Regions from separate parts of the Homo sapiens genome. Here region 1 is linked to region 2. The links are contacts of gene promoters, found by promoter capture Hi-C in blood cells and fetal thymus (Javierre and others, 2016). All regions are on one chromosome and are shown on one strand. Each heading gives the region's core, a stretch centred on a gene start or on the middle of the fragment in contact. The rest is flanking DNA. Distances are from core to core; before and after follow the strand shown.

What was found. The method cuts DNA at HindIII sites, captures the fragments that hold promoters and counts their contacts. A CHiCAGO score of 5 or more calls a contact.
Region 1: a contact is called between a fragment that was not itself captured here and the fragment with the promoter of CLEC4F in region 2, in 4 of 17 cell types (non-activated CD4 T cells, naive CD4 T cells, M2 macrophages and 1 more). The highest score is 6.8, in non-activated CD4 T cells.

The regions. Positions count from the first base shown.
Region 1 is chr2:70,314,163-70,319,086 of GRCh38, reverse strand. No RefSeq gene overlaps it. Among named protein-coding and RNA genes, the nearest start is that of FAM136A, 15 kb to the right of the region's middle. The HindIII fragment of the contact is 6,397 bases long and covers 1-4,924 here.
Region 2 is chr2:70,818,622-70,823,197 of GRCh38, reverse strand. CLEC4F (C-type lectin domain family 4 member F) reads left to right here and starts at 2,599. Exons shown (of 7, transcript NM_173535.3): 1 at 2,599-2,735; 2 at 3,307-3,423; 3 at 3,754-3,843. The coding sequence starts at 2,675. The HindIII fragment of the contact is 10,753 bases long and covers 1-4,576 here.

The sequences.
Region 1 (4,924 bases), core at 1,844-4,343, 500 kb after region 2:
TGGTCTTTGTTTATCTCCACTGTCCCAAGGGATGACCACTCCAAATGCTGTCCACCTCTCCAGGTTGCAGAGGCCCAGGGTGCCCTCAGGAGATGGCAGCTTCAGTGGAGTAGTGATGGGGACAACCAGGTATGAAGAATCTGGTGCTAAAATATACTTGAGGTTCATGTACATACAACCTGCCTGCACTCCAGGCAACTCTCTGGATACCAACTCGCTGGTTCCTTCCTTTTCCCACACCTCCCACCCACAGCTCACCCCTTTGCAGTTGTCCAGATACAGTATCTTGTTTCCTTCATATCTGCCCGTTGAATACATTTAAGCATTATTCTTCCTGTGCACAAAGGATGCAGAAACCCAACCTTGGCCATGCCCTGTGTCTCGCTCCTCTGAAGAACACACAGTTCTGCCCTGGGTGGCTTGAGGTCTTCCCATGTAGGGGTTCCACTAGCACAGGTAGACCAAGGGCATTTACTCCTCCCCTCTGCCCTTCCATTAAGAATGTGCTCAGCTGGCCCTCTGCTAAGCTACTCTCCATGCTTCTAACAGGGAAGAGAGAAAATCCCACTAATGTTCTTTCTGGTCATGGCCAGCATAACCTCAAGTCAGGAGAAGAAATGCGTCCCACCTCCTTTGGTGTTCGGTGGAGCCACCCCGCATGTCTGCTAAAAGTTCAGCTGGAACCTGATGGTCTTGCCTCTCTTGGGTTCCTGACCAGGAGCCACAAGCCATGGCTAGAGGTCCCAAGCCCAGCGGTGCTGCTGGTATAATGACAGCCCCTCCCTCATTCCCTGAAGCATCTCTCACCCCCTCTCAGCACAGACCACCTAAATGGCAACTATCCCTTCTCAGCCCACCATCACCCTCCCCACACCCCACTAAGTTACATTGACTTAATGACAAAAATAAGTGTACAGATCTTGTCTTTAAAGGTTGAAGGCAAGCTGGGGCTGGTAGCTCACGCCTGTAATCCCAGCACTTTGGTGGGGCCAAAGTGGAAGGATTGCTTGAGCTCAGGATTTCGAGATCAGCCTAGGCAACACAGTAAGACCCCGTCTCTACAGAAAGTAAAATATTAGCTGGGCATGGTGGAGCACAACTGTAGTCCCAGCTACTCAGGAGGCCGAGGTGAAAGGATCACTTGAGCTGTGATCCTGCCACTGCCCTCCAGCCTAAGTAAGACCCTGCCAAAAAAAAGAAGAAAAGTTGACGGCAACCTTTTCATTTCTCCAGGATTAAATGACCCACAGTGGTCCTGGGCCAGATGCTTGTCCTGTCAGAACTGAGATGTCTGACTTTATGTAAAGTGCCACTGATGTTCTAATATCACCAAGAGAACCTAGGTCCAGCCATTAGTATCACTCTTCTTGTTGAGCTTGGATATATTTTGAATATCTGTGTGGCATGGTGTTTACACGGGTAAAGTATTCAGTATTTACAGTAGATGAAATAAGTCTTTGGCAACTCTGGATCCCCTCTTAAAACTTCTGTCCTAATCCCTTGTCCTTTCAGGAGCCTAGTGTCCACATTCAGCCCTCTAACTGTCCACAACTTTGACAATATCTCCTCAAATCCCACCACCCCACCCAGTCTTGACAATGCCTCAGAATGGATCTCTCCTCTCTTCTTACTCTTCACAATTTGGAGCCAGGGATGTTGCCTGATTAAGAAGGGACTCTTGGCCTCTTTGGTAAGGAACCAGAGAGATGGTTTAATCCAGTCAAGCTCATTTTACAGATAAAGAAATTGAATCCCAGAGAAAGGAATACCTAAGACCAACCCAGATCCAAAGATTTCAACCAAAGTTCCCTGAATGGACTTTTACTGTAAGGAGAAGCAGAGCCCTTTGGGTTGAGTGTGTGTGACAGGCCTGAGGTCGCCTCCTGTGGTGGAACAGAGCCCAGCCCCACAAGAGACCTTCCTTAAGGGGCTCCTCAGCACTTCTGCTCCCAAGGCCTGGACCACAACAGGTTCCACAAATTATTATTATTATCACCATTGTTGTTTTGCTATAACAACCACAGTAATAAGAGGGGGAGAAAGGGAAATACAGGATTCCCAGGAACAATAATAATTATTTACCTCATACCTCAGAGACACTAACTGCCTGCCACCACACCCCTGAGAGTTAATAGTATTGTCACAATTTATAAAAGGGAGAAGGAAGGAAGAGAAAAGGGAGTGGCTCTATCACTGAGTTAGCTGAAGGACAAGTTGGCAGAAGTAGGCTAAGAACACAGAAGAGTTTGATGCTCAGCCCAAGATTGAATCTGTAAACCAATGTTTTCAACAGAAACTAGATCTGCAACCTACACAGTACTTCAGCTCAGGACTTTCCAAACTCTTTTGATCATTATCCACAGTAGGAAATATAATTTCACATTTACACCCATGCATATAGCACTTTAAGAGGCAAAAGTGGGCAGATTGCTTGAGCCCAGGAGTTCGAGACCAACCTGGGTAACAGAGCAAGACCTTGTCTCTAAAAAAAATACGAAACTTAGCTGGGCATGATGGCGCATGCCTGTGGTCCCACTTACTTGAGAGGCTGAGGTGGGAGGTTGCAGTAAGACATGATTATGCCACTGCACTCTAGCCTTGGCAACAGAGCAAGACCCTATCTCAAAAAAAAAAAAAAAGATATAATAGCTATGAACCAACCCACACATTCTCACATTCTCACCCTACCCTCACCACCCTGGAAAAATGGGACAGTTCAACTCAATAAGTATTTACCAGGTACATCTGACCAGCACTCCACCAGATGCTGTGAGAAATGCTCTGATTGACAATACAATTTTAGACTTGCAAGGTCAGCAGGAGCAGGGGAGAAGATGTGAGTTTTGGAGTCCATCAGATCTCATTTGAGTCCCTTTTCCACTGTGTCTTAGCAGTGTGACCTTAAACAATGTACTTGACCTCTAAAAGCACTTTCTCCTGACAATGTTGAATTTTACCTGAGCCCAGTGATTCTGAAGAACAGTGAAGGTTAAGAAATCCCTAACTCTTTGTGTTCTGGAAAACGCTTACTGCAAGGACTCATACTTCTCCATATGACTTAGAGAAAACTCACACATGCCTCCCTTGTTTACTTATGACCAGGCCAGACACAGATTCCAAATTCCCATTCTTTACCTTATAAATAATTACCTGAATTGCTTGCTCCCATTGATCAATAGGAACAAGATGTCGGTTAACCAAACTTTGGGTTGAGAGCTTTCCTCCTCTCTCCAGACCTCTGAGGTTTGGCCACCCTGAGCCTGAGCCACACAACACTCTTGAGAGTTTCCTCCCAGAAAATATGCTAGCCTCACAGTAAAACATTCTCTGATCTACTATCTCATTGGTCACATCATCCTCTTCTCCTGCTTCCCAACACCTGGTTCTTTTCTAGCTTTTTTACTCCTTTAAAAAAACTCTTGGCCAGGCACAGTGGCTCACATTTGTAATCCCAGTACTTTGGGAGGCTGAGGAGGGCAGATCACTTGAGGTCAGGAGGTCACCTGAGGTCTCAGCCAGCCTGGCCAACGTGGCAAAACCCCATCTCTACTAAAAATAAAAAATGTAGATGGGTGTGGTGGCACATGCCTGTAATCCCAGCTACTCGGGAGGCTGAGATATGAGAATCACTTGAACCCGGGAGGCAGAGGTTGCAGTGAGCAGAGATCACACTGCTGCACTCCAACCTGGGTGACAAAGTAAGACTCTGTCTCAAAAAAAAAAAAAAAAAAAAGAAAAAGAAAAAACTCTTCTTCTCTTCTTTGTCTAACTCTCAAGATCTTTGCAGATGTTAAGGTCACAAGGTGCTCCCTACTGACGTAGTCCCTTCCCCCACTGCATTAGTCCCCTCCACTATTACAATATTCTCTCTCCCCCATTGCAACAGTCCCCTACCCCAGTGCGATACTCCCCTCCTCCTACTCAATTGTACCCTCCCCCTAATGCAACAGTCCTTCTCCCTCTATTGCAATAGTCCCCTCCCCTATTGCAGCAATCTTCTTTTTTTAAAGATGGGATCCGGCTGTGTTGTCCAAGCTGAACTAGAATTCCTGAGCTCAAGTGATCCTCCTGCTTCCCAAATAGCCCTCCAGAGTAGCTGACACTGCAGTTGTACAGCACCATGTCCGGCTGCAACAATCCTTTTGAATTAAAGTGTCTTCTTACTAAGTCTGAATGTGGTTTTGACACTTGTCTGCCAAATAAGGATAACAGTAACATCTGCAAAGCTGTGGAGAGGGTTAGAAGTCCTATCTTTATGTGCCTGGTATATCTGGTGCACAATGGGTGCTCAGTAAACAGAAGCTACTGTTATTATCTTTGAAGGTAAAATCCCAGATGAGAAAAGTGAGGCCCCACTCAGCCCCCACTTGCACTCAGCTCCATGGCCTACCTTGCAACAAGGAGTGTTATCATGAAGTGGCTTCAAGAGAATGTGACCCAGAGGATGGGGAGGACAGAGGCCGGGGTATTCAAGCCATGTCATTTCAGAGGTGTATAGAAAACACACTGGGATGACAGTCAGAGATATCCATGTGTATTCTAATTTCTGACACCCACTGTGATGACATGAAACCCATGTCTTTCTAGGGCCCAGTTTCATGAGAAGGTTGATTTGGATCAAGAATTCTCAAACTCAGGCCTGGCACGGTGGCTTACGCCTATAATCTTTTTAACAGTGGAGGGTGTCCAGGTTCTTGGCATCTTGAACAAAGAATTGGACAAAGCACACAAACAAAACAAGGAAGGAATGAAGGGATTTATTGAAAATAAAAGTACACTCCACAGTGTAGGAGCAGACCTGAGCATAGGGACCCAAGGGTCCTGTTACAGAGTTTTCGTGAGTTTAAATACCCTCTACTTGGGGTACACCCGATGTAAATGAAGAGGATGAAGTAGTTACAAAGTCATTTACTTGGTGTATGCC
Region 2 (4,576 bases), core at 1,350-3,849:
CAGCAAATGGTGGCTCTGCACTCTACACATTGGGCCCCTAACACTGCACAGTTCAACACACACACACACACACACAAACACACACACCCCCACCATCATGAACTGGGTGTGGGCAACCGCTCCCTTCCTGTCTGCAGATCCCCTACCCACGGGGCGACTTGCTTGCCGGGTTGACATCAGCCACGCATGGCACAGGCTCCTCCTGGGCCAAAGCTGTTCTCCTGGCCCGGCCTCAGAGGAGGCACGTTCCGTGTGGCTTCTCCACCTTTGTGGTTGGTCTGCAGTGTTGTTAGTTGGCAGCTGGGGACCTATAAGAGGCTGACCCCAGGATCTGTGCAAAAGACATGAGAATGGGACATAGGAACAGAGGGTGAAAGTAGCAAAGAAACAACACAACATGGATGGAACAAGCCATTTGCAAGGTTGTGAGTTTGTTTAAGAGTTGCTATGATGGTGTAATATGTAATTAGACTTTCCAAAGTGAAAGAAAATGTGATTTATTTCAAAAAGATTGTGACCGTTTGAAGTAATGGAGACAAGAAGGAACCAAAGAACAGGAATCTGCTGGTAACCCCAGCACTGGCTTTTAGAGGGGTTCCTTGACCAGCCATGGGAATATTGGTTCTGTTCAGCTGGTAACCCCTGTGGCAGGGACAGGGACATCACGTTTGCACAGCTCCATGGCACTGTCCACTGGGATGCCTCATGCCTTCTCTTCTAATGCTAGGCCCACCCAGCAGCAGGAACCCCTGAAGCAGTATCTGTTCCTCCTGGAAGGGATAGGGCTCATTGAAAGCCACACATTGGCCCCAGCCTGCTCCATCAGATTCTTTGGAGTTAGTCTTGAGAACCTGGTCACCTCAGGAGGCATGGATCCAATCAGCTAAAGTTGGGGCCTGCTTGGTATTTTCTGACACCACTTCTGACACCAAATGTGTGCTTTTTCCTGACACCAGCCGATTCTCTGACACCCGCTGGGCATCCAACAATTCAAACAGATTCTAACACTAACTTCCAGAGTTAGCACAGATCTCACAGGGTAAGGCCTCAGTCCCACAAGACTGCCCCCCTTCAGATGCTAGCTACAAGTGAGGTAGTGACCCCACTTCTGCCTGGTCAACTACAAATTTGGGGGTTCTGGCTAGGCAAGGTGGCTCATGCCTGTAGTCCCAGCACTTTGGGAGGCTGAGGTGGGAGGATCACTTGAAGCCAGGAGTTCCAGACCAGCCTGGGGTATAAAAAGAGATCCCATCTCTACAAAAAAATAAAAATAAAAAATTAGCCAGGTATGTTGGCACACACCTGTAGTCCCAGTTATGCTGGGGTTATGCTGGATGTGACAGAGGCTGGGATGTTGGGGCTGAGAACTGAGGATCACTTGTGTCCAGGAGTTCAAGGCTGCATTGACTTATGATCGTACCACTGCACTCCAGCCTGAGTGACAGAGGGAGACCCTGTCTCAAACAAAAAATTAGGGGGTTTCTGCAACAACCTCTCAGTTTTCATAATTCACTAGAACAATTCACAGAACTCAGAAAAACACTGTACTTCCTATTCTTTTATTGTAAAGGACAAAAACAGCCTGATGAAGAGGTACACAGGGCAAGGCCCAGTGGGGTCCCAAGTGCAGGAGACTCTGTCTCTGTGGAGTCAGGGCATGACACCCTCCTGGCATGTGGATCACCAATCCCTAAGCTCCTTGAATCTCATTTTTTAAGAGTCGTTATAGCCCAGACCCCAGGCCATCTCCCATACCTGGAGGTCTGGGAGTAGGGAATGGGAGTGGGTGGCTGAAAGTCCCAGTCTTCCAAAGTCTAATCCCATGTTTGGTCTTTCTGGGACCAGCCTCCAGCCTGAAATTATCTAAGGGTCCACCCTGTGTCACCTCATTAGCATAAACCCAAGTGTAGTCCTAAGGGGCTTATTATGAATAACAAAAAACACTCCTGTCACCCAGGAAACTCTAAGCGTTTTAGGAGTTCTGTGTCAGGAACTGAGATGAAGACCAGATATATTTTTTACAGAGTTGTCCCTTGGTATCTGCAGGGGATTTGTTTCAGGACTCCCATGGGTACCAAAGTCCACAGATGCTCAAGTCCCTTGTACAAAATCATGTAGTATTTTTATATAACCTCCGCACATCCTCCTGTATACTATAATTCAGTTGTGAGTCCCCAAGTGGCTGGTCACCCCGCTTCCTCCTTTGACCTGCAAATATCGGCCGCACTGACCTGGCCCCTCTTTTACCTGACTCCTTTTACTTAAGAGGTTCTGAGGCTAGAATTAAAGGTCAGCCATAGTCATAAGGATGTTTTCTGTGCAAAGCTGAGACCCCCTTCCTAGGTGCCAGTCCCAGCCCCCAGAGAAGAAGAGGTGTGTTTGGGGTTATGCTGGATGCGGCAGAGGCTGGGATGATGGGGCTGAGAACTGACGGGAAGGTGCTAATGGGAAGAGGAAGAAAATAGGGCAGATGGGTATCTGGGAGCCTCTAGGGGAGGGGCCCACTGGGGCGGGTTTCTGCAGAGTCAGGCAGGGAGGGAGGAAGAGCTGGGAGGGTGGTCAGGAGCATATAAGTGTGGGTGTCTCAGCTTTGCTTCCACTGCCATTGGTCCACGGGACGGCCCTTCCAGGAGCCAGTGGCTGGGAGCAGTGCTGGAGGATCAAGGAAGCAGAGATGGACGGTGAGGCAGTCCGCTTCTGCACAGATAACCAGTGTGTCTCCCTGCACCCCCAAGGTGAGAAAACTGGGGCCCCAGCTCTTGCCCAGTGAGGGAGTAGCCTGCCTGTCCTTTGGCCCTCTGCCATAAGGCAGCTTATTGCTGTCTTATTGCTCTCCCCAGACCCTTGTCCTTGGGGATGCAGACCTGGCAAGAGAAAGGGGATGAACTTTGAATTCAGATGGTCCTGGCTTGGAATCCCGGCTCTGCACACTGAGCTGGTCCTGTGAGGCCTCCCTCCCTTCCTTTCTTCTTTCATTCAAACTACACTTTTGTTGCTCTGTGCTCTGTGCCAGGTTCTGTGCCCTGTGCACCACCAAAGCCTCCTTGAGATTTGGAGATCGGTGGTCTCGGTCTCAGAGCTCCTCAGCTCTGTGTTGCTACCATATCCACATCTAGCTCTGGTGAACAGCCCAAAGTGTTTTGTCTTCCTTCTCCATAACCACCTGCATGATAAGCATGGCAGGAGTTATCATCCCCATTAGACAACCCAGGAAACAGAATCAGAGAGGCTGTGTCTCAGCCTGCACAGCACCCTCTTACCTTGCACAGCACCCTCTCACCTTGGACACTGCCTTCTCCCCTGCAGAGGTGGACTCTGTGGCAATGGCTCCTGCAGCCCCCAAGATACCGAGGCTCGTTCAGGCTACCCCGGCATTTATGGCTGTGACCTTGGTCTTCTCTCTTGTGACTCTCTTTGTAGTGGGTAAGCCCCCAGGTGACCCAAATCTCACTAACTTTCTCTCCTTTCAGCACAAAGTCCCCAGGGGCCCCAGATGCACACTCTCTGGGCCTCTCTGCTCCCAGAAAGATCATTCCACCTCCAGCTCCAGGCCCAAGCCACAGCTTCCCTGGGAACAGATAAAGGCCACTGTCCAAGGGGGAGCCTCCCAAGAACTGAGGTTCATGAGGGAAACCCTGGGAGGGTCTTTGCTGCTATCTCCCCGGTTCTGGAACTCTACCTCTGTGTGGGACAGCGTATCCTCCCAGGCTCAGGGCTGGGGATTTGCTGACCTGGAAAAATGGAATGTCTCAGTTCAACAGCAGACAAGACCTGTTCCGAAGCCTGTGCAAGCCGTAATTCTGGGAGACAACATTACTGGGCATTTACCTTTTGAACCCAACAGTGAGTAGCCACAGTGGGGGTGGGGTGCAGAGGGAACTGGGGCCTTCAGATGCTCAGACCCTAGGATGAGCTTCTCTCCTGGTACCCTCTGACCACTGAATGGGCTCCACCATCCTCACAGAAAGAGATAATTTTTTAAAAACACAGTTTTATTGAGGTCTAATGGTGTATATATTTAAAGCATACAATCTGTTAAGTTTTGACATATGTGTGTGCCCCTGAAACCATCACCACAATCATCATCACATAGTCATCCTCCTCACCCCAAAGTTTCCTTGTGGCTCTTTGTAATTCCTTCCTCTCCCTTCCTCTCCTCATCCCTGGGCAGCCACAGATCTACTTGCTGTAACTATAGATTAGTTTGCTTTTTCTAGAGTTTTATAGATAAGAGATCATAGAGTATGTACTCTTTGTTCTTTGCTAGTCATGTGATTTGCAAATATTTTTCTCTCAGTCTGTGACTTGTCTTGTCATTCTCCTAACAAGATTTTAATTTTGATAGTCTAATTTATCATTTTATTTCTGTTATGGATTATTCTCATGATCTCGTATGTGAGAAATCTGCCTAATCCAAGGCTACAAAGATGTTCTCCTTTGTTTCTGGAAATTGTACAGTTTTTAGTTTTAGTTTTTGTTTTTGTTTTTTGACGGAGTCTCGCTCTGTCACCCAGGCTGGAGTGCAGTGGCGTGATCTCGGCTCACTGCAAGCTCTGCCTCCCAGGTTCATGCCATT